Linked DNA regions of Homo sapiens: all the other regions are linked to region 3. Evidence: promoter capture Hi-C in 16 types of primary human blood cells and fetal thymus (Javierre and others, 2016). All regions are on one chromosome and are shown on one strand. The core of a region is centred on a gene start or on the middle of the fragment in contact, and the rest is flanking DNA. Distances in the headings are between cores, read along the strand shown.

The links. The method cuts DNA at HindIII sites, captures the fragments that hold promoters and counts their contacts. A CHiCAGO score of 5 or more calls a contact.
Region 1: a contact is called between a fragment that was not itself captured here and the fragment with the promoter of TOMM20 in region 3, in 2 of 17 cell types (naive CD4 T cells and total CD8 T cells). The highest score is 6.4, in naive CD4 T cells.
Region 2: a contact is called between a fragment that was not itself captured here and the fragment with the promoter of TOMM20 in region 3, in 6 of 17 cell types (neutrophils, activated CD4 T cells, total CD4 T cells and 3 more). The highest score is 8.3, in neutrophils.
Region 4: a contact is called between a fragment that was not itself captured here and the fragment with the promoter of TOMM20 in region 3, in 1 of 17 cell types (total CD4 T cells). The highest score is 5.2, in total CD4 T cells.

The regions. Positions count from the first base shown.
Region 1 is chr1:234,598,926-234,606,210 of GRCh38, reverse strand. IRF2BP2 (interferon regulatory factor 2 binding protein 2) reads left to right here. Exons shown (of 2, transcript NM_182972.3): 2 at 1-1,942. Among named protein-coding and RNA genes, the nearest start is that of IRF2BP2, 7.6 kb to the left of the region's middle. RefSeq lists silencers at 3,255-3,424, 5,310-5,359, 5,760-6,289 and enhancers at 5,833-6,346, 6,347-6,860. The HindIII fragment of the contact is 324 bases long and covers 1,981-2,304 here.
Region 2 is chr1:234,583,565-234,590,300 of GRCh38, reverse strand. No RefSeq gene overlaps it. Among named protein-coding and RNA genes, the nearest start is that of IRF2BP2, 23 kb to the left of the region's middle. RefSeq lists enhancers at 1,111-1,611, 6,359-6,503 and a cis regulatory region at 6,426-6,436. The HindIII fragment of the contact is 5,237 bases long and covers 247-5,483 here.
Region 3 is chr1:235,124,268-235,130,750 of GRCh38, reverse strand. TOMM20 (translocase of outer mitochondrial membrane 20) reads left to right here and starts at 1,914. Exons shown (of 5, transcript NM_014765.3): 1 at 1,914-2,156. The coding sequence starts at 2,036. It overlaps SNORA14B (small nucleolar RNA, H/ACA box 14B), which reads left to right and starts at 2,814; the gene lies at 2,814-2,948. It overlaps LOC105379283 (a long non-coding RNA gene), which reads left to right and starts at 2,550. Exons shown (of 2, transcript XR_949295.4): 1 at 2,550-3,122; 2 at 3,782-3,832. RefSeq lists enhancers at 1,637-1,736, 1,967-2,186. The HindIII fragment of the contact is 4,902 bases long and covers 1-3,848 here.
Region 4 is chr1:234,549,314-234,556,580 of GRCh38, reverse strand. No RefSeq gene overlaps it. Among named protein-coding and RNA genes, the nearest start is that of LINC01354, 21 kb to the right of the region's middle. RefSeq lists silencers at 1,384-1,678, 3,060-3,267. The HindIII fragment of the contact is 231 bases long and covers 3,222-3,452 here.

The DNA of each region.
Region 1 (7,285 bases), core at 893-3,392, 520 kb after region 3:
GTTACAGTCCAGGTGAACTTGGAGATTGTGGGATTGGTTTTGTTTCTGTTTTGTTTTGTTTATCATTTACCTGTAGTGCTATTGCTGTTGATACTATCACCTATACCCTGTTTCTAGTGAGTGCTGAATACAGTATGGTACAATGACAGTAACAGCCGCGTGGTGCTGCCAGGACTGCCCTTGGGCATATCAGTGACAGCCCAAATGTGGGTGGAGGAAACCTGTAATTTCCTTCTTAACATGTGTTTGAAATACCAAGTGAATAATACTGTTCTGGAAAAAAATGATAAACTAGTGGAAATTAAAGAAATTAAGGGTTTTATATAATAGACAGGCCCCACCTCTCAAAATATTTTTAGAAGTCTTTTTGTAAACTAATTTCTTTTGATCACTATTTTGCATCAGTAAAATGATTTTTTTAAAACCAATAAATCATCAATTATTAGAAATAGTTGTCTCACAGTGATACTGGTTTTTCTTTTGTGCTGTTATGATTTAACATTGACAGGAACACTATTTTAAATCCTTACGTTCAGGTGTTTGTAACTTGGCCTTATAATTAGGCTGAATTATGGCTTCAAGGTCTACAATTTATGTGTATGGTTCACAGCCTAGCTTCTATTTACATTTGAAAATACAGATTTTTACCAACTTTGGATTCTTTTTTAGTTATATGTTTGTCTTTCCTTTTTAAATTGTTCAAAACTATTTTTTAATGGTCAAGTTACTAACACTTGAAAATCAGATACTGCACCAAATACAGTGTTTTTCCGTAGTGTTTTTAATGAGTGCACCTATTACTACTGTGCGAGAATTCATGTTTTACCAGTCATTGTTATATTACAAACAGACTTGCATGATTAACCAGTTGTTACACTTACTTTTTCAAGTTGGAGTATATATGACTCAGTGCAGACTGGTCTCTCTTATGTGAATGCACACATGCAGAAATGCAGAGTCAATTTTACATGCCCATAAAGACATTTGTAAAGAATTCAGCTCTTATGGTCTGTTGTATAAATGTGTATCTAGGCACTTTGGAATTTGACCTCACAGATGTTACAACTTGATCAGTCGTTTGACCTAATTTGTGGTAGCTATCTGTATGTTTTGCAATCTTAATACAGACATGCTTTCCAAAAAGATTAATACAGAACCATCCTGCCGTTTTGGATAAGTCTATCCAGCTGTGGAAAGGGCAACCTGTGGTTTCTCTGTACTGGTGTTTAATGGGGGAAGAATATGAACAGCTTTAAAGAGCTGTGTATTGTGGTTACTACTATTAAAAAATAAGATCTGCACGAGTCTGACTGGCCTTTGGGTGGCCTTTGTGGACGGCTCGTAGCTGGAAAGTGTTGATCTGGGTTTTCTGGCATTCTTTTAAGTTAAAAAGTTAACATCGGGACATGGGTTTGATCTTTTGTTGTACCTGATGACAGTGCAGAGATTCTCCACAGCTGGATAAAAATGTCACAAAGCTACTTACTGTACATGGGCAGTATCAGATTTCAAATCCTAATATTTCAGCTGTGCTTTTAATACTCAAAATATTAGGGGATGGGGTGTTGAAGCTTTCCCTTTTTTGCTTTTAACAATTTATAGAATTTAACAGATGTACTGTCTTTCATGTGGCCTCACATTTAAAGTTATGAGAACATACACATGGTTTACAACTTTTACTATATACCTTTCCTTGGCCACCAAGTATTTTAAAAGTGTGCCACCTTTTAACCTTTACTTTTTTTAAGTTGAAGGTGATACTTTTTCTATATATGATGAAACTCATGTCAACTGAAGTGAGTGTAATCTCAGATACCAACATTATTATATTTTAAAATCACGCTATGGAAATATCACCTGAATTCTGTCATTTGTCAGATTTACAGTACCTTTTTTTCTTTAACTTTTAGCATTAAATAAAAATAAAATTGGGAGCACTGAACATTTTCTGAGGCCTTTTTTAATTTTCTAAAGCAAGCTTAGAATGGCTATTGTTTTAATCACTAATGGCAATGTGACTAAAGGATGTGTGGGTTTGGGGTTGGGGTTTGCCTGAACTTCAGGAGATAAAAGACATGGAACAAAAAGGCAACTGATGGTATAAAATAGAAGTGCCAGGGACTGCGGAAAGGGCAACTGGATAGGGGACACAGATAAAAGAGCTGAACAAAGTACGGCTAGAAAGCATTTGTTTATTTTTCAACTAGCAGCAGAACCAGCCATTCTGCAATGGTAGATTGGAAAGAGAAGATAGTGACGACACTGGAAAGACTCTCAAGACCTGGAGCTGCTCTTTGAAAAGCTTTGGAATAAAACAGCTACGTTGGGCCATAGGAAATGCGCTAAAGACAAAAGGGATTTAAAAAAAAAAAAAGCCTTATACTTTGGAAAGCTTAGGAATGAAAAAAGCCAAAGCCATGTATGAGCTTTATTGATATCCTGAAACTTAAATTTATAAATAGAGATAAAAGGTAGAAAGCACTGAGACACATTTTACTGGCTACTCTCATATAATAAGAAATTTCCTAGATGTTGCAGCTTTTACTCTTTTTATTGATTAATGGCTTGGCAGACTTCTCTATGAAAGGAAGTTGTGAAACTCATAAAGAGTTGGAGGCTAGGATATACATAGAGTTACTATATGTTTTAAATTAAACAGCAACAGTGAATGTGTACTTGAATATATTTACACTAGGGTGGTCTGGTAACTAGGAGGGGCCCATCACTATATATATTTTAATAGTTTTTCATTATTAGTCCATTTAAGGTTTTCAAGAAACCATATTCTTAGCAAGTTACAGATGATAAACAATTTTTCATGTAATAACTAGGTTAAAAGAAATAGGATGAACTATGTTTTTGTAACAAAAATGCTAAATTTTATTTTTAGTGAAATTGAAAATAGTGCAGCTTGTAGAAGTAATTCTCAACATTTCAAAACCTCTTCCCAAAGATATACTTTAATGACTGCATTTCGTTTTCAGTTAAGAAAACAAACCAGACTCTTGATGTGGCAGATGTCTTTGTTTATTCCCCAAAGGGGAGTTGGGGGAGAGTTAAAAGGAAACTATGGAAATCCTTTTTTAATTCCTAGACTTTTAAGTCCCTCTTTACTCAAAAGTTGTTTTGCATATGATTTATAGATGGTTTTATTTGGTTAGTGAAGAGTAAAATGTTTCTCTTCCTGATTCCTAAGTGTATACGTGGAATCATTCAGAAAAATGTTCAGTTGTGTGTAGGCCATGAGAAGTCCTGAGTCACCCTCATTTGCTTGCCTTTTGTTCATAGGGAACAGTATGAGAAGACACGCCTTTCCTCTGTCACAGACCAAGGTCAGATGCACCAATGAATGGAATACATATTTACCCAATTTATCGTGGGGTTCTAGAAATCGGGAGTGGGGGTGGGGACTGTTTTAACTCCTTCAGTGCCACTGGTTAGGCCTCTGACAGCAATGGTACTACAATCAAATAAAAATTACGGGTGTGACTTTCCAGATTACAAACTCTATAGATCCCTTGTTGCTGTTTCTCTTGACAGCCTGCATTTTCCTTAATATGTCTGAACCCCTCACTGTAACTTAAAAAGCACACAAATAGACAATTTATAAATTACTCGCTAAGCGGTTAGAAGATAGAAAATGGGTAGATTTATGGATTATCTGTGGATTCCTCCATTAATCCTCAGATAAATCCATAATTTGTCAGGGATACCCACACTACCCCTAGTTATTACATTAATTTATACCTAATTTAACAGTGAACATTGTTTTAACTCATTAGGTGTGTCATCTGCTCCCTCCCCATGTCAATACAACTTAACTTAAAATGCTTGATTTGAAACAGCTCTCTGATTGTTTGATTTGAAGTGTAACTTGTCTCTTTAAAAGATTATAGAATATGAAGTCTGTATTTGCACTGGTTTTAATCAGAAAATTATGCACATCTGCCTGGCACAACATAAAACAATCCATACAACCCACAGAAAAGGTATTTTAGGACAAAAAGTAACTATACCATAGACAGATCATTATTGAGAATCATTTAGACATTGTATCTTAAAAGCTGTTCTTTTATTTTTAATCCAAAACCCAACTGAGTAAAATTTCCTTATTAAACAACCCTATTAGAATGGTATAAACAGTTTCTTCTGTAAGACAAACATTTATTTGGAAAATATATAGAATGGCACTGTATAACACTAACTCAAAACATGGAATAATAAATCTTCAGTGCAAGTAAAACATCACAAAATCAGCCATGAAAAGCCTCTAGGAGATGATTTCTGCCTAGGTCAGATAAGTCTAGAGACTAGACTACAGGATTCCTAGTTTAAATTGAGAGCTTCAAGGCACCGGTTCTCATCCTTTGAATGGGCTGTCAGAAGTTAGATTGCGTAATCTAAAGAGCCTCCTCCAGCAGCTCTACAGACGCCCTTGATGCTGAGATAAGACATCCTGTATAGGGTAATAATGTCACATTTGAATATTTCTAAATATAGTTTACATTTTGGGGGAAATGAACTACATTACATAATCTGTAGATCACATCACTTACCACTTTTACTTAGCAATTAGTATTTCTATATCATCACCATCAGGTAGCATTCAGATGCCCATCGTGCACAAAAAATGAGTTCGGTTTTGTTGTGGAGGCACTCAGCAACTTTAGCAGATAAATATTTAAGTCATTGCAAATTTATCTGCAATATCTATAGAAAACATCTTTCCTATACTAGTTCAAATAGAGTACTTTGAATTGCGTATGTGGCTATTTATGCCTCCGGGGTGGGGGGGCGGTGGGAATTAAAAACCCGGAAACATTTCGCCAGAGCTCAGGGCCTCAATTTATTTTAATGCATGGAAAGAGTTTATTAAAAGTGAACCTCAAATTACTGAGGTTTTGCCTTCTTTTATTGTATGATTTTTAAAGTATTTGCCATACTAGTAAGAGTTCTGCAGAGAAGTGACATGTGGGAGTAGAGATTGTCTGGGTCAGACTAAATCAGCATTTCTTTGGCACAGGCTTGTCTTGGGCCGTCTGCCTGAGCCGACTGTATGTGTGAGCTGCAAAACAGAAAAAAGCTGTTGAGAGTCTTAGCCCAGGCTAAGAGCCCATTACCCCCATTTTGTTATTTCTGCCTGCAAACAGCAGTTCAATTAGCTTTTCTGGTGATAAAAGATAAAGATTTATTGTACCCCATATACAATTGAAATCAGAATTTCACAGGAGGGTCACAGTCATTAGAGAAGTTTTGGAATACTATTCTCCTAATAAGCACCATATGGGTTGTTGCTGTTATAATTTAACACCTACTAAGCAGGCATCTCATTCTAGGCTTTGAACAGCTGAGAGGCTAGCTCCTACCTTTTGTGCAGCTTAAAGTCAAAGCCACAGGTAGGAAATGTCACTTTGCTTGGTTCAAGACACGTATTGACAAGAGTTAACCACGAGTTTGTTTCCTTCCAGTTTATCTTACAAACCACAGTAAAATTCTGACATAGGAACACAGTCCGAAGTCCAAAGTGCTTTCGCACAATAAGTTCATTATGCCCAGCGTGCAATTCATGCATCAAGGGGGCCGCCGGACCCCATTATCTTTATACAAATCAAGAGGCCAGTTGGAACAAGGAGGCTGGTCAGAATGGTCAAATTGTAGTTTTTCCCTTTCTTTTTTAAAAAATTTATTTTTTCACTTTGTATCGTTGTTCAGAATGGCACTTTTTAAAAGGAAGAAAGCCTCCAGCCCTGCCAAGCTCTGTTTACTCCACGGGAAGGAAAGGGGAGGAGGCTCCCTCACTCTCCAACAGCCTGGAGCCCACAAGGAGCCCTTGCTGCGGTTTCCAAGGCGGCCCCCTGACTTGCGCCGCGCCTCTATTCTAGAACTTTTCCCGGGCTGGAGCAGCGCAGTCTCCGCGCGCCCGGCTCTGCGCACGTGGAGCCGCGCGACCCCGGGCGGGGCGGGGCGGGGCGGGGCGGAACGGAACGGAACGGGACGGGACGGGACGGGGCGGGGCGCGGGCCCGGAAACGGGAAACGGCCCGGTGCGCCCCGCCCCTCCGCTCCGCCGCCCAGTCCTGGCCCCGAGCGCCAGGCCAAGCCAGCGCGCCAGCTGCCGGGCTATAATTAGAGGGACCGCAGCCCGGGCCCGGCCACCTCCTCGCGCCCCCCGCCCGCGTTCCCGGGGAAGAATGTGCGAGTGCGCGCGAGGGCCCGAGTGCGCCGCCGCCGGCGCGCTCTCTGGAGCAGAGACCGCGTGGTGAACCAAATAAAGTAAAAGGTCTGGCTCCTGCTGGGCGAGGCCGAGCGAGGAACGTGCGCGCCAGAGCAGGGGTGTGGCGAGCCCTCGGTGGCCCAGAAAAGATCAAACGCGCGTCAGCAGCAGCCGTGGCTGCCGCCTGCAAGGGTCCCTGACGCGGGCCGGGCTGTACAGGGTGGATTTTCTAAGTTGGAGATGGCGCATGACAAGAGCTGCCCCAAATCAAATGTCACTCCCTTTTTGGAAATCATGATGCTGCTTTTTTTTTTTTTTTTTGGCTGCAGCTATAATAAGCCAAATGTTCCGTGCTGGTGAAGTAAACACGCGTGTTTAAGAAGCATCTGTGTTAGCACTAATGGATGGTGCATGCTAATAAAAATGTATTTATTAAGCAAACCTCAGGACATGCCCCTATGGGAACTGCCCAGAGTACTGTTAACAACTGACTGCCTGAAAATGAGTTTACTTTCTATCAAGAAACTTTTATTTAAATTTGAAGAAAAAAGTTTTTCTTTGATCATAGCATTGTTGTGCACCTGAGGTTCTACCCAATTAGTTAACTGCTAATTTTTATTAATTATTCCCTTTAATACTCTGCAGTATTTTCTCAAAAAATGAACAGCATGACCCCTGTCACTTTAAAAAACTGACATTAAACTATTTCTCCATCACCAGCCTTGGAGTTGGGGGGGCAGGGTGCTGGCTACCAGAAGTAGCAACTAGATTGTGGAATAAGTATTGTGTAATAGTTTTAGTGATTGTTTAAAAGTGAATGAACCGGTGAATGGATAGGAGGCTAGAAAAAAAAAAAAAAGCCTTGCTTCAGGCTTGTGAATTCCTAGACACAACCCTACCCAAAGACTTCCTTCACCAACATATTTTTCTTTCTAGATAATAGGCACAAAAACCATTTAGAAGTTTGAGATGGAAATCATGCAATGCACTCTGCTCTTTATATATGTTACTGAGGAATCTGGAAGCTTTTCCGGGTTGAAATGCAATTCCTAGGAAATTATTCTTGCTCTTT
Region 2 (6,736 bases), core at 1,616-4,115, 540 kb after region 3:
ATAGGCTTAAACTATAAAGGGAACTTAATGGCTCTGGGAACTAATAAAATCTACAGTCAGGTAGACCCTAGGTCTGACTTGCTTAAGGTTTAAGCATCTTCTCTCTCTGATTCTCGTGTCTGTACCTTCACTATGTTGATACTATCTTCAGGCAGGCTTCCCTCCTGCTTACAGGATGATGCACTTTCTCTTTCACATCCAAGAGGAAAGAGGGCAGAGCATTCCTTTTAGAACAAGTCCCAAGCTTCCCTCTGATTGGCTCAGTCCCGACATCATCATCGTGGGCAAGGAAAAGCTCTGCTCTGATTGGCTCAGGTCTGCCCATGCCCTAACCAATCCCAGGGCAAAGGCATGGGATTGCCCTGACTGGCATCTAGTTAGGAGTCTTTCCCTGCAATTGGGAGTAGGATCAGTCCCACCACAATAAATGGTTGCTGCACAGTGGCTGAGGAATGGCCTGGATATTGGGAGATAAACTTAGTACTCCACATCAGCCTCCAAAGCAGGGCTGCCTGGAAAGAAGGGTGTTCCCTGTGTGGATATCAGGGCAGTATCAGTACAGCATGGCAGAGTGGGGTCGTGGCTGGTGGACATGTGCTCACTTCAGATGTCCTTGTCCCTGATCTGTTTGCCCCTCCCTCTGACACAGGGAGTGCTCACCTCAACAGGATTAAACTCCTAGCAGCTGGCTTTACAACTGCGGGATCTGGGATGTTGCTGGGAGCCACCCAGAGCTGAGGTGCATGATTCACGCTGTTCTGATTAGTGGCTTGGCAGGGACAAAGAATGAAGGAAGAAGGTGGCTTAGAGACAAGTTGGGGCAGCCCAGAAGAGGGGGTTCTTTGAGATTTTTGATCTGTAGTTTGTTTTTGTTTAAAAAACCAACAACTGAGGTGGGAAGACACATCTTAGCAAGTTGTAAAATGCCTCCTCCACCCCGCCCTCTCTCTAGGCCTCTTCCCTCTTTACTGTGCTGCCACTGCAGTCTCTGGCACAGGCACGTCACACAGAAAGCCAAGGGAGGGAGGGTGATGCAGCCTGGCCGAAAAGCACACCGGTTCCTCGTGCACAGTGAGATGGGAGCACACGGCCTGTTGGTGTGGGCGGCCCCGGCGCCACCTCGTACACTAGGTGTTCCCATCAGTCTTTGAACAAGGGCCATCCACTGTCTGAGCAGACACACGCCAGGTACCTGTGTACCACGTTGGAATTGAGAAAGACCACGAGAAAAAAAAAACAGCAGAGCTTTTTGTGGCCTCAGTATCACTCTGGGCGAGTGAGAGAGGCATTTGGGGACCAAACATGGCTGGGATTAAACGAGGGCGTTGCTACCTCAACAGGTACATAATTCTAAATTGTGTGAGGGGAAAAAGTCATCCTGTTGACTCCGAACAAAATGATTTATGGTTTACAAAGCTGTTTTGCCTCTGTCGGGTCATTTAATCCTCATAACCGCCTCTAAGAAACACTTTTACAGAACAGAAAACTGAGGCAAAGCCGAGCGACTTGCTTTAAATTATTTATAGTTATAAAGTGAAGCTGATCTAACTCTAATCCCATTTTCTTCTTTTTGCTATTTGAGAGTTACATTTTTTTTTTTGGCCTTATCAGTACAGGGAATATTAGTTAAGACGTGCCATGGAATGGATTATACAAATCCCCCAAACCCCTTTGCTTACAGACGGGTTTATACTCATTCTTCATGCTTAGCTTGCTAATGTAGGAGTCACATGTTACTGTTGTCTTTATTCTCCTGGTTTAATCAGGAAAACGAGCCAGAAGAGCTGAAATGATTAGCTTGGGATCGTTAGAAGAGGAAAGAATTTATATTCACAGTGACTGTATTTCTAGTCCATTGATTGGGCAATGTTGCTTTTATGAATCAATTGTCATGATTGCTATGCTGAATAAAATGTGGAATCGCTATCACAAAGAAAACATAAATTATTTAGTTTTAAAATACATACTATCTATGCATGGACCTAAATAGTCAATGGAATATTTCTATTTCCTCTTCCTGATTTTTATTTAGGTTTTCTCAAGGGGCACTCACATAGGTCCCTCAGTTCTACTGTGGCAGGTAGCAGTGTGATTCAACAACATGCAATGTCCTGCCATGTGACATTATTAATTAACTCTCATTGACAGCCCCGTTATACATGCAGGTTGATTATTCAAATTCAATACAGTGTGGTTTAGGGGAAACATGAGAGACCACACATACCTTGAATCTGGGGCTCCAATTCCGAAGGCAAGGTGATTTCTAGAAATATGTATGATCACCTTTGGAGAGTCTAGTAACAAATGCACCAGCAAACTCATCTCTATTAATGTGTTAATTTTTTTTCCTTAGGGTATATAAAGGTCATTTCATAAATTGCACATTTCACACTGATTAATCTTCATGGATTATCTCTTGCTATAGCAAATATGATAATGTCCAACAATTGCAATTAATAATCATGGAACTTTATTTCATGAGAGGATGTTTTGAAAGCCAAATAATCACTGTTAAGAGGATAGCAGAAAATTGGATAGAGCAGAATAGAAGTGGAAGAAAGAGGAGCGAATAGAGAAACACATAGAAATGGATGTAGTGCTTAGGATACTCAAACATTGAAAGCTCTGGGTTTAGGAATTAAAAACAAAGGAGGTATTTGGCTTAACCACTATGGGATTTTTCTTTTTCTTTTTTTTTTTTTTGAGACAGTCTCACCCTGTTGCCCAGGCTGGAGTGCAGTGGCACAATCTCGGCTCACTGCAACCTCCACCTCCCAGGTTCAAGCGATTCTCCTGCCTCAGCCTCCTGAGTAGCTGGGATTACAGGCACATGCCATGATGCCCAGCTAATTTTTTGTATCTTTAGTAGAGACGGAGTTTTACCATGTTGACCGGGCTGGTCTCGAACTTCTGACCTCGTGATCTGCTCGCCCTTGGCCTCCCAAAGTGCTCGGATTACAGGCGTGAACCCCACGCCCAGCCACTGCTATGGGATTTTAAGGATTCTAGATATAAAATATTTCATGGATTAAGTCATTTGACAAACATTTATTGTGTGCCTCCTACGTGTGTGGTACTGGAGATTTTAGATTGTTATTATGATCCAACAGTCTTATAGCCTACAGCAAAAGGACTGGAGAGAGAGAGAGAGATTTGATTAACACGAAGGAAAAGGAGAAAGAGAAGGAGAAAGAAAAAGCAGAAATGAAAGTAGCAGCAGCAGCCAATGTCAACAAAATCCCCATTGCAAGCCCTCATTTTTCCCAAGCAAAATATGTATAATGTTTGTGAACTAACACTTTCCCCAATTTTCTTCAGCAAAGGTTAGTCAATCATGAACCCAAGCATAATAATATGTAAGTTCTTCTCTCCAGCAGGTACCGCGAGAAACACAAGTTAAGATTCACATTCTGTTCCCAAAGAACTTATGAGCCTATTTGGCAATTTCAAGCTAATGCACACTCAATTATGAACCCAGTGTAAGATAGTACGCATGCAGGTGTGGAGCGGTAGGATTTGGATTAGGGGTGCATGGTGGTTACAGAGGGGAGTGAAAGGGAAAAGGAAGTTTTCATGGAGAAGACAGACTCAAGTGAGACCTGAGAGGAGGGACATGAGCGGTGGGACAAAGAGACAGAAATTAGCATCCTATATTTTGGGAAGCATGAAGGACTGTCTACGTGATGGGAAGTAAATAGGATAAGATGAAACTTCCAGGGGCCCAGAAACTCATGCACAGGGAGGGGCCAAGAATTCAGTGTGGCCCATGATGACAGTGGCAAGTCAGGCAGCTGACCCTGGAACAAGGCGGGGATAGGATTAAGGCTGCCAACAGGCCAGTAAGATAACCCAATTCTGAGCAACTGGACCAGGATGGCAGCAGAGAAGGAGCAGATGAGACATTTCAAAGAAGGGGCTGATACGACTCAGAATCTGACCTGTTTAAGGGCATGGACAAGAAGGGGGCTTCAACGATGACTCCAAGGTTGCAAATGTGGGTCGTTTATGAGAATGGAAGCACCACCCAATCTTGGAAGAAGTCTAAATGCCTAGATGAGCATATAAGAATGACTTTCTGTTATGCCGGGACATGCCGCAAGGCAGAAGAAGATCTTCCTCTCCTCCCCCTACCTCCAGAGTTGGCCAAGAGTGGTAGTGGGTGATGTTAAAGAACATCAGACAGGAAACGGACCAGGTTGCCGAGGGTCCAGGTCGGGCTGAGCAGAGCTGGGGCCGAGGAGTTCTGGGTCAGGGAGACTGAGAGTCCAGACTGGAGGACGAAGATGAACACAGCAACTAAGCAGAGTAGATTTCATGGTCAGCAGCCCAAACAGAAGTTTCCTTGGTGCTCAGGATGTGTGTGTAGAGAAGTCTTTTGGTTATGTAGTCTGTAGATCCGTTTTTGTATTTGTGCTGTCCAAGCAGTGCTTTTCCATTCATTCCCCCACTGACTCATGCATTCGACACGCGTGATTTATCATTCACATGCACCAGGCACTATGCTGGGTGCCAGGGCAAAAAGAAAGAAGCCAGGCCCTCAAGAAGCTCCCAGCCTACACAGGAGGGCACAGATACGCAGACTTTCAGAACTCAAGACAGAAGCAGTAAGTCCAAGAAAACTATCTGAAATAACCACTTGGGATATTTTCTCAGAAATTAACCAAAGGGATGTTGTGTTGAACTGGGATTGAAGAGGGTCAAGATCTCAGAGCTCTTCCCTTGGGAATTCTCAGCAGGAGGAGCAAAAGCAGAGGGTGGCAGGATTGAGGGTTAGAAACATGTGTCAGTGTATCCGAGAATCCAGGGCTGTTGTCACAGCAGTTTGAGGAGGCTGAGCAGACCGTACAAGAATCTGGTGTGGCCTCTGAGAGGCTAAGATACAGAGCACAGGCTTTTTGAATTGAAGGGTAAAACTGAGCAAATGAGAACTGACTCATTTTTATTTTCACCAATCAGGACCCTTTTAAATCCTATTTCATGGGTATATAGTAATGTCACGAAATGCAGATTTTATTTTCATCAATTGATGCCATAGAGAGAGAGGACTCCAGAGAGTAAGCTCACATCTCCCCGCAGAGGTTCCTGGCTGCGGGCCAGATACCATTCTTTTAAGCACCAAGCATCAATTAAAGGCAAGCTCTCCAGCAATTCTGCTTCCTGCGGACAGATTGGGTCCAAGGAGAAAGCAAGGAAGACCCTGAGAGAAGAACTTTCCCTGGTGGTGGAGACTTGAACTCCATTCAGCAGCTTAGATGTCCCCCCTGTCTCTCCAGCATGACTGCCAGGCTCTTACCAGCTTGGAAAGGAGCCAGGAGATGGGAGCCCCCTCCTCTAGGGCCAGTCCTTAGGTCTATAATAACACTGTGACATTTCATCCCTGACACTTCTGCCTGACTTCACCTCTACCCCCACCCAGAGATATCCCTGAGTCCTAGATGCATGGCTGCAGGCTTAGGGAGAGGTGCAGGAAAAGGAATGAAGCTTAGCAAAGTTGCTAACAGCCCAGGTTTGGGCATTAAAAAAAAAAAATGGATTTGAATTATGTGTCCACAACGTGATTCACTATTTAATCCTGAACAAATTAGTTTCTGAGTCTCTGTTCCCTTTGTAGACTGGGCATAAGCTAGTACCAGTCTCATAAGGACTTTGTACATATTGAATGAGATGAGCTATGTAAAGTGTGTTGTACTGTGTCTGCTGCCTAGGAAATGCTCACTGCACGATCCCTGGTATTACTAAGAATGTAGCTCTCCATGTTCCGTGTGAGTTCGAGGACTAAGCAGCGTTGCCTATACCCTTCTTTCCTTCTCTCCCCTGGCAACTCAACTCAAATACCTGCTGCTGAAATGGTAACTTCATTAATAGGTCGAATGATCTATGAAGAACCTCTACTGTACAGAATAGTTTTCACTTTGCTGCCTTGTCTTCCTGCTAATTTTCTGGTTAATCTGGCAATTTGAACAAGAATATACTCCCTCCTTCCCCCACCCTCCAACGGCGCACACGCGCACGCACACAAACACACACACACACACACACACACACACTGGAAGATGGATGTGTGGGCAGCTGGAGAGGTGGGGTCATGGCAGACCAGAGGTCAGTGCTGCCCTGTAGGAGAGCCCACAGAAGAAAGAGGCCCTTTGCCAAAGGAGATTTTTATTTTACTGTCTCCAAAAGGTAAGAGAACCCTTCCAATAATTTTTTTTTCTTTTTGCTTACAGTCTCACAATTTAAACATAGGACACTGAATGGTCAGAACCTTGGCCCACCCCCGAGTGCCCGGGACCTGTTGCCAGAACCAGGAGTTTGAGCTCCTGCCCAGTAGGCTTGTAACCTGAACTTTCTGTTTCTAAACTCCCAGTTCTTAGTAGCCGGCGCAAATTCTGGGCCACAAAATTCTGAGAATTATTGCACTTGTCAGTTGCTAAGTCACATGCCCTTCAGCCTGGTCCCTGCTAGTGGGATGATAGTACTTCTGTTAAAGCCTATGAATTTCACTGTCACATAAAAATGGGCATCCCTAATAATACCATCCAAGGCTTGCCATAATCACCCAGAAATATACCATCAGGCCTGTCATAATTAATCAATTTTCAGGATCCCCCAGGGTCTCCAAATACAATGACTGGTAGCAAATTAATAGAGACTTTGGATCATCCCATTTAACTTCATCAGGAAACTGACCCCATGATGAAAATTTAGTTTAATTAGGATAATAGCTCATATTTAAAGA
Region 3 (6,483 bases), core at 665-3,164:
GATCACCAGATGTCAGGAGTTTGAGACTAGCCTGGCCAACATGGTGAAACCCCATCTCTACTAAAAATACAAAAATTTGCTGGGTGTGGTGGCACATGCCTGTAATCCGAGCTACTGGGGAGGCTGAGGCAGGAGAATCGCTTGAACCCAGGAGGTGGAGGTTATAGTGAGCCAAGATCATGCCACTGCACTCCAGCCTGGGTGACAGCAAGACTGTCTCAAAAAAAAAAAAAAAAAAAAAAAAAAGTGAAAGGTTACTTTGTAGAATGGTGCATACCCTAAAGCAAGAGAAGGAACATGTCCACCTTAGGTACAAGGCTTGTTTGTATTGAACAGCAAAAAAATGAGGAAGATGAGCTCTACTCCAAGAGCTTGTGACAAAGGATTTTTTGTGTGTTTGTTTTGAGACGAGGTCTTACCCTGTCACCCAGTTTGGACTGCAGTGGTACAATCATAACTCAACTGCAGCCTCAACCTCCTGGGATTAAGGGATACTTCCGCATCATTCCCCATGTAGTTGGGACCACAGGTGTGTGCCACCACGCCTGGCTAAGTTTTTAATTTTTTTGTGGAGACAGGGTCTCACCATGTTGCCCAGGCTGGTGTTGAACTCTTGGGCTCAAGCTATCCGCCCATCTGGGCCTCCCAAAGTGCTGGGATTACAGGTGTGAGACACTGCCTGGTCTTTGTCAAAGGACTGTTAATCCTGTGTAACTACTGTCTTCTGCAAGGATCAATATTATCTTTAAAGGGAAAATTAAACTAAGAATGCTTTTGTTCTTAAGATATCAGGACATCAGGACATTTCCTGGGTCTGTTAGGTAAACATTATTAACTTGTTCCCTTCCCTGTAAATATCCTGTGACCAAGAATGCCAAACTTCCTGGGAATGTGCCCCAATAGGTCTCAGCCTCATTTTACCCAGCCCCTATTCAAGGTAAGGTAGCTCTGGTTCCAATGTCTCTTGACACTGATGCTTGACTTCGATACCCCTCAACTTACAGTGTCTGTTTAATGCCTGCTTTCTGCCCACGATTTTCCTTGTCAATATCTTAAGTTAGATCATATATATATATATTTTGTTTTTTTGAGACGGACTCCTGATCTGTCACTCAGGCTGGAGTGCAGTGGCTCGATCTTGGCTCACTGCAACCTCTGCCTCCTGGTTCAAGCGATTCTCCCGCCTCAGCCTCCAGAGTAGCTGGGATTACAGGCCCCGGCCACCATGGCCAGCTAATTTTTGTATTTTTAGTAGAGACAGGGTTTCACTATGTTGGCCAGGCTGGTCTCAAACTCCTGGCCTTAAGTGATCCGCCTGCCTCGGCCTCCCAAAGTGTTGAGATTACAGGCGTGAGCCACCGCGCCTGGCCTGATCATGTGTATGTTTTCGTGTGGCTATAAAACAATTCACGTTTTCTATTTTTTCTTCAATTGTGTATATTTTTCAAGAAATTACTCCATTTAATTTTATTCCAGTTATCATAAAATGAGGCTATCCTGTAACATTCTTTTGAAATGGAACCACTACGCACAATGGATTGTGGCAACCTGAAAAGAAAGTACAGTTTAATTCAAACAAGTCACAGGCTGCCTGTGTTAGACAAGATGAAGCATTCGCAGTCTGGGACCCTGCATCTCTGTCTGCCACAAACAAGGCTGTCAGCTAGTCTTCTGAGTACGTGCACGCCAGTAACGCGTACGCCTCGTTACAGCATGGTCGGCGGATATGAAAAAAAGTCCGTGGTCACGTGCAAATTCCCGACTCCAGTGCGTACACCCAGCGGCGCAGGGGAAACGCCGGCTTCGCCCACTGCGCAGGCGCAGGAGCCGCGCTCTGGGCCTCTGCTCAGGCTCTGCCGCGGACGACCTCGAGGCCCTTAGTTGACTGGGACCGGAAGTGGCGTGTGCTCGGCCTTTCTGTGTTCCTGGCCCGCGGCCGTCGGGTGTGAGCTGCGCCGACCGCTCTGAGGGTTCGTGGCCCACCGCTCCTTCGCGGTCCCTGCCGCCACCGTCCACGCTCAGCGTTGTAGAGAAGATGGTGGGTCGGAACAGCGCCATCGCCGCCGGTGTATGCGGGGCCCTTTTCATTGGGTACTGCATCTACTTCGACCGCAAAAGACGAAGTGACCCCAACTTCAAGAACAGGCTTCGAGAACGTGAGTGGGTCCTCTCTCCCCTGGCCAGGCTTGCTGCCTTCGGCCGCCGCCCTTCACAGGAGGGGTCATTGCCTCCCACCAGCCTGTGGGCCGCGCAGGGCGACCGCGTGGTGCGGCCCTCAATAGGCGATGGCGCTGGCTGCGCCGCTCCGGGGGCTCTAGTGCCCCGTAGGAATTCCATTTTGGAGGAAGGATTTTTCCCGTTTTGTTTTCCCCAGACACTTTAGCCGTGCAAATGCACTCTTGATTTCTGTTGCAATCTCGGGTGTGTGTGGCCTGGGGAGGAGGTTGTCTCTTTTTTTGTCGTTCATCTTTTTAAACCTCTACTCTTAACTAAAAAGTCGTGCATTTTTGTCGCAAATTTTAGTCTGAGGCTAAATCCGCATGCTCAGTGCAGTATCATTGTTGCATTCTTTTTTTTGAGACGGAATCTCGCTCTGTCGCCCAGGCTGTAGTGCAGTGGCGCGATCTCGGCTCACTGCAACCTCCGCCTCCCGAGTTCAAGCGCTTCTCCTGCCTCAGTCTCCCCAGTAGCTGGGATTACAGTCGGGCGTCACCACGCCCGGTGATTTTTTGTGTTTAGTAGAGACGGGGTTTCACCGTGTTGGTCAGGCTAGTCTCGAACTCCTGACCTCAGATGATCCGCCTGGCTCATTGCTGCATTCTTAAACCCTCTTGGTAGCTTCGTTCTAAGTGCTTCCAAGATATGAGTGAATGCTATAGAAATTGCAGGGGAGTCCAAAGGGCTGCGCTTCTCCCGTGGCTCAGTCTTATTTCATACCTGCGACATCTTTTAAGAGAGGTCTACCAGAGGGGAATCGTGTCATGAAAACCGTTGTGATCCACCTTGAATTTTCGGAGAATCTTCATTCGCATCATTGAAGAGCAAATTTGTTGCAATAAGAAATATTTTTTGGCTTATCTTGGTTGTTCAGCCAAATTAGTTTTTGGAATTAAAATTGATACGTAAGTTACTAAAGCCCAAGGGGTACAAAGAAGGGATTATTGTTTACTTAAGTAACAGTGGTTACGGTTTAATTCAGCTATACTAAGTCATTTCAAGTGTTCAGTAGCCCTGTGTGAGCAGTGACTGCAGCGCTGATCTTACTAGCACTAAGAATCAGACATCTAGTTCCAGCTTTCTTATGTTTTAGGAGGGAAGGGATATAGACATAATTTGATTTATGACTAGGCAGACTAATAGAATACTGTTTTACATTCAGACCTTGAATTTCTAGGGCCAGGTTAGCGGCATAATTTGGGGTTTCTGAATCCTAATTTCTGTAGTTGTAAAATCAGGTAATGCCACCTACCTCTTGTTGATCTTGTGAAGGTTGAGATGTTTGAATTGCCTTCCACGTTTTCTGACATAGGAAATGCTCCTCCATAAATGCTGGTGGTCATTCTGCCTTCGGGTTATTGTCCTGTAGTTGCCAAAATGGGTGACAGCTGGGGGCTTTGGTACAAATGCAGAGTTATAAAGAATGGATTAACCCTATCTTCCGTTGGAAACCCTGAAGTCCTGTTGCAGAAACAAGAGCTATCATTTTAGACAAATGGAGGAATGTTATTTCAAAATAACTTCTCCATCATTTTCAATCTAAAATTGTTTTTTCTGGATTTAGCGGCAACCTAATGATTACAGTGAATTACTTAGCTGCAGCAGTAACTTTAGGCAAGTAACTTCAAGCTTTAGTTTTCCCTTTTTGTAAAATGGTATAGTGTAGAGTTTTAGTCCTGTTCCTCACACATGGTAATTGATGAATGCTAGAGATTTTTTGTTGTTGTTGTTTGTTTGTTTGAGTCTCGCTCTGTCGCCCAGGCTCGAGTGCAGTGGGGTGATCTCGGATCATTGCAACCTCCGCCTCCCGGGTTCAAGCAATTCTGCCTCAGCCTCCTGAGTAGCTGGGATTACAGGCGCACACCACCATGCCAGGCTAATTTTTGTATTTTTAGTAGAGACAGGGTTTCACCATATTGGCCAGGTTGGTCTCGAACTCCTGACTTCATGATCTGCCCGTCTCAGCCTCCCAAAGTGCTGGGATTACAGGCGTGAGCCACCGCGTCCGGATGAGATATTTTTATGAGTAGAAATATTTTGTTGTTTGATGTTTTTGTAAAATTTATTTAGAATAATCTTGCAGTCTGTTCACAGGTAATTGAGGCTGGGTGTGGTGGCTCAACGCTAGTAATCTCAGCACTTTGGGAGGCCGAGGTGGGCGGATCACCTCATGTCAGGAGTTCAAGCAGCCTGGCCAGCATGGTGAAACCCCCACTCTGCTAAAAATACAAAAATTAGCCGGGTGTGGTGGTGCACGCCGGTAGTCCCAGCTGCTTGGGAGGCTGAGGCAGAATTGCTGGAATGTGGAAGGTGGAGGTTGCAGTGAGCAGAGACTGCACCACTGCACTCCATCCTGGGGGGACAGAGCAAGACTCTGTCTCCAAAATATACGTGTGTGTGTGTGTGTGTCTTTATATATATTTATATCTATATCTATCTATCTTTATCTATCTATCTATCTATCTAATCTAATCTATCGACCAGGCGCAGTGACTCACGCCTGTAATCCCAGCACTTTGGGAGGCCAAGGTGGGAAGATCATGAGGTCAGGAGATCGAGACCAGCCTGGTCAACATGGTGAAACCCCGTCTCTACTAAAAATACAAAAAAAAAAAAATTAGCTGGGCGTGGTGGCACGCACCTGTAGTCCCAGCTACTTGGGAGACTGAGGTAGGAAGATCGCTTGAACCTGGGATGCTGAGGTTGCAGTGAGCCGAGATGGCGCCACTGCACTCCAGCCTGGGGACAGAGCGGGGACAGAGCGAGACTCGGTCTCAAAAAAAAAAAAAAAGTGCAGTTGCGTGACTGGCTGATTTTAAAAAGTTTAGGGGTATTTTGCCTTTGTGGAATGAAATTCTGTTCAGTTAATTTTGAGTTTTTAAAATTAATTTTTTTTAAATTTTGAGTTCTTCTAGTCTTATTTCCAATAGAATATTTACATCTGCAATAAAAGAGCAGTTTTTCACATAAGGCATGTAGCTCATTGGCTTTCTTTTTTGTTAAGAAGAGAGACTTAGGCGGCCGGGCGTGGTGGCTCAGGCCTGTAAACCCAGCACTTTGGGAGGCCGAGGCGGGCGGATCACAAGGTCAGGAGATCGAGACCATCCTGGCTAACATGGTGAAACCCCGTCTTTACTAAAAAATAGAAAAACTTAGCCGGGCATGGTGGCGGGTGCCTGTAGTCCCACCTACTGGGGAGGCTGAGGCAGGAGAATGGCGTGAACTCGGGAGGCGGAGCTTACAGTGAGCCGAGATGACGCTGCTGCACTCCCGCCTGGGCGACAAAGCGAGACTCCGTCTCAAAAAGAAAAAAAATAAAAAATAAAAGAAGAGAGCCTTATATTGTTTAAAATGAGGCTTGAGGTTAAATTTGGGATCCTAATTTATTTAGACTTTTTGTCACCTGTTAGCAAAAGCAGAGTATCAGGATCCTTGAGGTGTAGTTTTTATCATTCTAAATTATGAGTAAATGAAATGTAATTTGCCAAATTACAATGCCAGCTGCAGGTGCATTTCACTTATATGGGACGGATAAAATGACACATTAAAAATATATTAAGCATCTTATTTAAATGAATAAATCTTGGAAACATTGAGTCAAGGCTTGATTTTGCTCATTGTTAAATTTCTTCATGGTTTTTCAGTTGATTACCATCTGTCCCTTTATCACAGAAATACTGCATTATACTATATCTGAAAATATGTTAATGTAATAAGTTAATTGTATTATGAAACTAAAGCCAGAATTTTAATCTTATTGCTAAAAATGTAAAGCAACTAAGTGATCTTAAAATTTGGTAGCTGTATCAGTTAAATGTATTCAGTGGCAATCACACACTCCTCCCCACCTTATTAAAAAAACTTATGACTCAGTTTCACTTTCCTGGGTTTCATTATCAGTTTTGTCATTTTCCCTAAATTCTGGTTTAGCAAATTGTATGTCTCACATACAGTTGATCCCACAAACTTGGCATGTTCATTTCTGAGGTGCCTTTTGTTTTGATGGTAATAACATCTTTACTTCTCCACACTATTAACTATAGAGGCAGAAGAGAGTCATGTTTCAAGTCCAAAAGCCTGGGTTTGAGTTGCCATTCCACCAGTAAGTAATTGTGACCTTGGTACATTTTCTCATCTGGAAAATGGGGATGATAATAGTACCTGGATTTTGTTTTTTGTTTTTGTTTGAGACGGAGTCTCACTCTGTGGCCCAGGCTGGAGCGCAGTGGCGCTATCTCAGCTTACTGCAACCTCAAACTCCCAGGT
Region 4 (7,267 bases), core at 2,088-4,587, 580 kb after region 3:
AAGACCCCACCTCTTAACACTATTGCAGTGGGGAATAGGTATCAACATGGATTTCAGAAGAACACAGACATTCACACCATAGCACATGGGACCCTGTTTGTGGCTGGCATCTGAAATGGGAGCTGTTTAGTTGGGCTGAGCCCTTAATCTGTGGGGTCTGGGCTCAATCCGGGTAGTTAGTGTCAGAAATGAATTGACTTGTAGGACACCCAGATGGTGTTGGAGAATCTAACTGATTGGTTGTTGCTGGAAAAACCACCACACCCCTCTACTGAACTGTGAGCTTCACAGGTCCAGAGTGGGACTGGAGTTGCTGTTTCAAGAACATCAGGCCGGGTGCCGTGGCTCACACCTGTAATCCCAGCACTTTGGAAGGCTGAGGTGTGTGGATCACCTGAGGTCAGGAGTTTGAGACCAGCCTGACCAATGTGGTGTAACCTCATCTCTACTAAAAATACAAAAATTAGCTGGGTGTGGTGGCGGGCGCCTATAATCCCAGCTACTTGAGAGGCTGAGGCAGGAGAATCACTTGAACCCAAGAGGCGGAGGTTGCAGTGAGCCGAGATCGCACCATTGCACTCCAGCCTGAGCAATAAGAGTGAAACTGTCTCAAAACAAAAAAAAACAAAAAAAAAAACAAAACACATCAGGGGTTGGCACAGTGCCACAATGCCACAGTGCCTGGCACACCATAGGTGCTGATTTGACCCATTAATCAGCAATTTCAGGCTCTTAGTCTCCAGGTTTGGTTCTCGAAATGTCTTCCTCTTCAGTTGAGTTAATGAAACAGGTATTTCCTGGGTTGGTCATGGTAAACATGGTGACGGGTGTTAGTGAGTTTCAGGGCACAACACCTAAGGTGACATCGATTGTGGGTGACATAACAAGGACCCATCACCTCAGTCTCATGACTGGGACACAGTCCCTCAACCTCACTGCCTTTCAGCTTTCCAAAGTGTCCTTCCTTATTTGAAGCCACAGTGGTTCCATAGCACCAACACAGAATCACGTCACCATGAAGCTGGAGCAGCGTGCCTTAGGTCACCTGATGAAAATGGTCTCCAGCTGTGTGTCATTCCCATTCCAGACTCCGAGTTGGATACTTTTTTCCCCATAAGGCGGTATAATTGACCCTTACATCCAGGCTTTCCCCTCCCACCGAATGTTGTGTATCTCAGGCCTATGAGACTCAAATCCTCTCTCCTCTGAAGATGCATAGAGTCAAGGCAGGTTGGGAGGGAGATGGTTCCAGAAAGGCCCCTACTGCTGTCAGCAGCTTCCAGGGCAGAGACGATTCACTGGGGTGGGCAGTTCCTGAGCATGGAGGCCGGCTGGGCATCCATCCTCAGCTCCTTCCTCTCCTGGAAACGGCTTCTTCAAAAGGGTCTGTGCCAGCCTTGCTGGTGGGGAGGCCTGTTCTGAGCCTCTGGGGTTGTTGGAAGGTGGAGTGGGGCTGGGGGAGGGGTGAGGAGGAGGCCTGGAAAGCTGCCATCAGAGTGCGGCTGGTGACAGCAAGAATCTATCAATCTTGCCTGCAGAGCCAAATATGGTGCTGGGGCTCAATAGGTAATAAACAATGGTCACATTGCAGGCTGGACAAGGAGAGACATTACAGATGAGAGGGAAGGCAGGCCTGATGTCACCACGTGTGCGGTCCTGGCTGGTGCGGACTGCATCGCCCCTCCCGGCTCACCCCAGGGTGCAAGGAGTCCATATTTGTCCTTGTTGAGTCCACATGTGTTTTTATTTATTTTTTTAAATTTTTTGTACAGACAGGGTCCAGCTGTACTGCCCAGGCTGGTCTCAAACCCTGGCCTCAAGCAATCCTTCCGCCTCGGCCTCCCAAAGTGCTGGGATTGCAGTCGTGAGTCACTGCGCAGGCCCTTACATATGTTTTTCCTTGATATGCTCAAAAGGGGGAAACTGAGTCCTGCTTGTCATGTTGAAGGGGTATTCTTGGCGCTGTGCCATGACTCCTAGGCTCTCAGAGGCATGGCATGGATTGAGCCCTGTCTCACTGTCTTCACTTGCTTTCAGTAGCATCATCTGCTCATTGCCAGACTCTTAGCAGTGATGAGAGCACATATTGTTACTGGAAATGGCCAGAACTGGCAAGTTTTTTTTAGCATAAATGCTTTAAGCACACATTATTAAAATCTCAGTTTTAGCTATTCCAGGATAGCTGTTTGTAGAGAGCTGGGGAACACGCAGACGGCTAAGGACCTGAGGACAGCTTGGCTGGAGAGACAAACACTTGCACATACACGTCTGAGAATGAGCACTGTATTTTCTAGGCCAGGGCCAAATAGTCAGCAAGGCAAGGATGCGAGGCAGGGGCCCGGGAAGACGTCAGTGGTGTCTTTCTGCACATTAGGTTCACGCATTGGCTTCACCAACAGGGTGAGATCTATTCCTTTTTCTTGTGCCTCTGTGTATATTGGGGCTTTTTCTTAACAATCAGATTTACCTGGAGCTTGGGTCCCATATAATCACACAGAAAAATGGCAGTGGGGGAGGTAGCGTCACATCCTGCTGAGAAGAGCACAGGACTCTGAGCCAGAAAGAACGGGCTTCGAACCCCAGCTGTGCCCAAGATCAACCATGAGACCTTAGAGCAGTCAACTAATTCATTGAGCTTCATCTGCTTGTCCATACAACGGGGGACTCCCGTCCGCTCAGCAGGGCATTGTGAGAATCAGAACTAGCTTTCGAAAGAGCCCAACATAGTAGGTTTCCAACAGAATATACTTGCTCTTGAAGCGAACGTGGGTTCTTCTAAACTGAAATGATTAACTGCCTGGAGGTGGTTAATGGCTAGGAACTCTGCTTACCCCTGCTGTACATTTTTGTGGTTCGGAGCTCTTTCCAACAGGCTGTGGCTTTAAAAATGCAGATAGCTCCTGCTAAAGAGATAAAGCTTTCCCGAGGAAGCTAAAGGGCATCCTGTTCTGATTAGCACTGACTCTGTCTGGACTGTAATGCCTCCACCCGCGTCAGTCACAGAATGCTGAGCAGGGATCTGGAGGCTGCTTCGAAATGTGATTGCAGGCCTGACCATGAGACTAGAATACATCACCATCATTCTGTCGGTCATCCTCAAGGAAAATCCACTAAAGGTTTCAGAAAAAAAGCCTGGCCAGGGGTCTGCAGCCTGCCACGTGGGAGCCTGAAGTGGGGATGGTCGACATGCATCTCCTGGGCCGCTCTGGAAGTGACAAGCTTCCCAGTGGGTCAGGACAATGTGGCTGCCACACGGTGCAGGGAGGGATAGTCACCATATGCAGGCCACATTGACCGTGCACGCTGATCTGACCCAGTGCTGTTTACTCTGTAATCACTGTCTGAATGAAAAATCAGGAGATCCATGCGCATTTGCTTCATGTTGTTCGGGATGGAAAATCCTCATCCTTTGTCCCCGAAGAAAAATATCTGTGAGGCCATCAGTCTAAGCTTTAAAGGTCATGGAGGGAAAAGGTACCAGCGCCATCTAACTCTGCTGGACCAAATCCGTGAGGGGAATGAGGTAAAAATGGGAAATGAATCAGTACATCTAAAAAGAGAGGCAAACCATTATTAATGCAAGAGTGGGACTCAACCTAAAATTCTACTTATTAGCCTTCATTGTAAGCTTGCAATTCATATGTCTCCCACAATGAAGCTACATTAAGAATAGTAGATTAAATAAATAAATAAAGAGTAATGGAAGAATGTGATGATTGCCATTTATCACCCATAAATATCCACGTTTCTATTCTGTGGAAAAAAATCAGTGATCTAAATATTAACCAGTAGCGCACATTATAAACACTTACTTACATATTATGATCACCATAAAGTCATTACAACAGAAATAAAAACTGTTTTTTATTTTAACTATTAATATTCATCAAATGTTAATGAAAATACCTAACAAATAATTATGAAAAACACATTGCTTAAGTAATAAAGATGAAAGAGATGATAATCGTTGTGAATATTTAATCTGCAAAATAAAGAACATACCATTAATAAGACTTAATTATGTCATTAAATATTTAACTTTACTTTCTCTACTAAATTTTGCTTGCATTTTGCATATTTTAAATGTGAAAAGCTTCTTAATAAGATTAGTAGTTTCAGCAACATAAAATGCCCGACCATTTAAGTTTGACTTACTGTCTTCATCAAATTGGTCAAACATCATTTTATTTATCATTAAGTGAAATGAACAACCCTCTTTGCTGTTTATTACAAGTTATGCTTTATCCATAAGGGAAGTTGAATAATTGATTCCAGGTTTATACACACAAAAGTGATGTTTTGTAACAGTGAAGAAAATGAATTGCTTTCCTTTTCCATTTTTTTTTTCAGTATCACATAATCTCCCACATTTCCTACTGTTTGCGTAGGAGAATACAGATCTGATTTGACCTTAGTGTGCTGTAGAATAAGTTCTACACCATTCACAGTTAAATCCATTCAGTTCCTCACAATTGACCCCCATCACTTATAACTCTGGCTTCGGAGAAATCTCATTTCTTTGGTTTAAGATCAAAGAGAGTTGGCCGGGTATAGTGGCTCCTGCCTGTTAATCCCAGCACGTTGGGAGGTTGAGGCAGGAGGATTGCTTGAGGCCAAGAGTTCAAGACCTGCCTGGGCAACACAGCAAGACCCTCTCGCTATAAAAAATTTAAAAATTAGCCTGCTGTGGTGGCGTGTGTCTGTAGTCCCAGCTGCTCAGGGAGGCTGAGGTGGGAGGATCACTTGAGCCCAGGAATTCAAGGCTGCAGTGATCTGTGATCACACCACTGTGCTCCAGCCTGGGTGACAGAGCGAGAACTTGTCTCTAAAAAAAGATGACAGAGGCCAGGTGCGGTGGCTCACGCCTGTTTTCCCAGCACTTTGGGAGGCCGAGGCAGGTGGATCACTTGAGGTCAGGAGTTCGAGACCAGCCTGGCCAACATGGTGAAACCCCATTTCTACTAAAAAATACAAAACTTAGCCGGGCATGGTGGTGGGCGCCTGTAATCCCAGCTACTCGGGAGGCTGAGGCATGAGAATTGCTTGAACATGAGAGACGGAGGTTGCAGTGAGCTGAGATTGCACCACTGTACTCCAGCCTGGGCGACAGAGCACGACTCGGTGTAAAGAAAAAAAACAACGACAGAGAGCGAGTTAGATTCCTACTACTGCCGATCCACAGTCAAGGGTAGTCTCAGATCTCTCGAACTTACCTCAACACAAAGCCAGGGTCTCCCTCTCAGGTGTCCAGCATGGGGCCTAGCTGTCTCTCCCACCATCTCCTCCCACGCCCCTTTGGGACCTGGGCCTCGGATGACCAGAAGCTGGATGGGCAGAGCACAGGTACTCTGAGGCAGCGTCAGGCATCGCTGTGCATTGGGACAGGCAAAGCTTTCTCATCCGTGCATCTGCATCTCCTGCATTCCTGGTGAGGCAGCTGAGGCAGTGGGGTAAATGCCCATGCTAGCCTTGTCCTTTGCTGGCTAAGACATAAAGAGCTCTTTGTTGGAAGTGGAAGGAGAATCCTGACATGACTGCTGCTTGGGCAGTACCTCAACCTGGCTCTGAGGGCTAAGGGGGCAGCTGGGCAAGGTGCAGGTTGGCCCAGGCCTGAGGGCCTCTCTCAGGATACAGGAACCTTCAGAGCTAAAACCAAGGATGGTTCCAGACAGTGCTGGAGGGCTGGTCACCCCTACAGTGTTTCTGATCTGTGAGGCACAGAACAGTCCCGGATGAGACCTGGAGGGGCAGACCAAGTGGAAGACAAAGAAGTCTGTTCGGAAAGGCCTCTTCCTGCCCAGGCAACGGCTGGAAAGAACAGGAAAAGGCAGGGGGAAAGCCTGAAGTCCCAAGGAGAAATACAATGTTTCCGTCCTTGGGCATGGACAGGGGTCTGGAGCTCAGTGCTTCATCCGTTTAGGAATTCCATTACCTAGTCTCCAGGGCTCTCTGGCGGCTTGAGCCCCCAGATGCTCTGGTGGAGGCTGTGCGCCGCTCCTCCGCCCTCCTCCTGCCTGGCTGTCGGCCGCCGCTGCCTGTGCAGGAGGCTCATCGTTATGCCAGGGCTGTAGGTCTGCTCAAAGCTTCCCAGTCACCAGAAACATGTTCTTCTGGGGCTGCCTTTCCCACTTGGCTGGCGGTGCCTGACTTGCATATGAAACCGGCCCTTGGGGGCAGTAGGCTGGCGTGTCAGCCTCTCAATGCTAGACCAACAGACCCAGCCAGATTCTCAAGGCAGCCTCAGCCTGCCCTTTCTTCCCAAGAACACATGGGGTCTTTTTAGAAGAGCCATCGTGAGAGATGCTAAAATTTCAACTTTGTAAGAACCAACAATGACCAGAATAATAATGGGGCACATCTCCCTGATGCTACATGCTTTCACTTGTCTTAGAAGGGAGCTTTTTTTTTTTTTTTTGAGACAGTTTTACTCTGTCGCCCCAGGCTGGAGTACAGTGGCGCAATCTCGGCTCACTGCAACCTCCACCTCCTGGGTTCAAGCAATTCTCCTGCTTCAGCCTCCCGCGTAGCTGGGATTACAGGTGCACACCACCATGCCCAGCTAATTTTTGTATTTTTAGTAGAGACGGGGCTTCACCATGTTGGCCAGGCTGGTCTCAAACTCCTGACCTCCGGTGATCGGCCCTCCTAGACCTCCCAAAGTGCTGGGATTACAGGTGTGAGGCATCGCGCCCGGCGGAAGGGAGCCAATTTTTGTGACATCTGTGGTTTCCCATTGCGCCTTGAGCTGCAGAAGCCAGGCAGGCCCCAGGGCTGCTGGTCCACTGGTGGTGTTGGAGATGCTGCTAGAGGGGCTCAGCCCCTGCAGTGTTAAAGGCACAGGCTGAAGCTCATCTTGTCAATCATCAAGATGCTGATTGAATATCCCCAGGGGATTCTGAGACTGGGCCTTGTAACTTTAGGTGCTGTTGAAGGTCTGATCACGCCTGCACACAGCCTGCCATTTCCCAGGGATTTAAGGGTCTACTCAGGACTGCCCCTTCCACATTGTCCTCCTTGGTCTCCCCGCTGAGCTAGGGCTTCTTCTCCAGGGTCTCCTGCCACTCTGTGCATAAATCCATCACTGCTCTTACTCCTGGAAGAGCAGGTGACCCTTGAACAACATGGGGGTTGGGGCGCCAACCCCTTAACAGCGGAAAATCCACATATAACTTTTGCCTCTCTCAGAACTTAACTACTGATAGTCTATGTTGACCAGAAGCCTTGCTGATAACATAATCAGTTGATTAACATACATTTTGTATGTTCT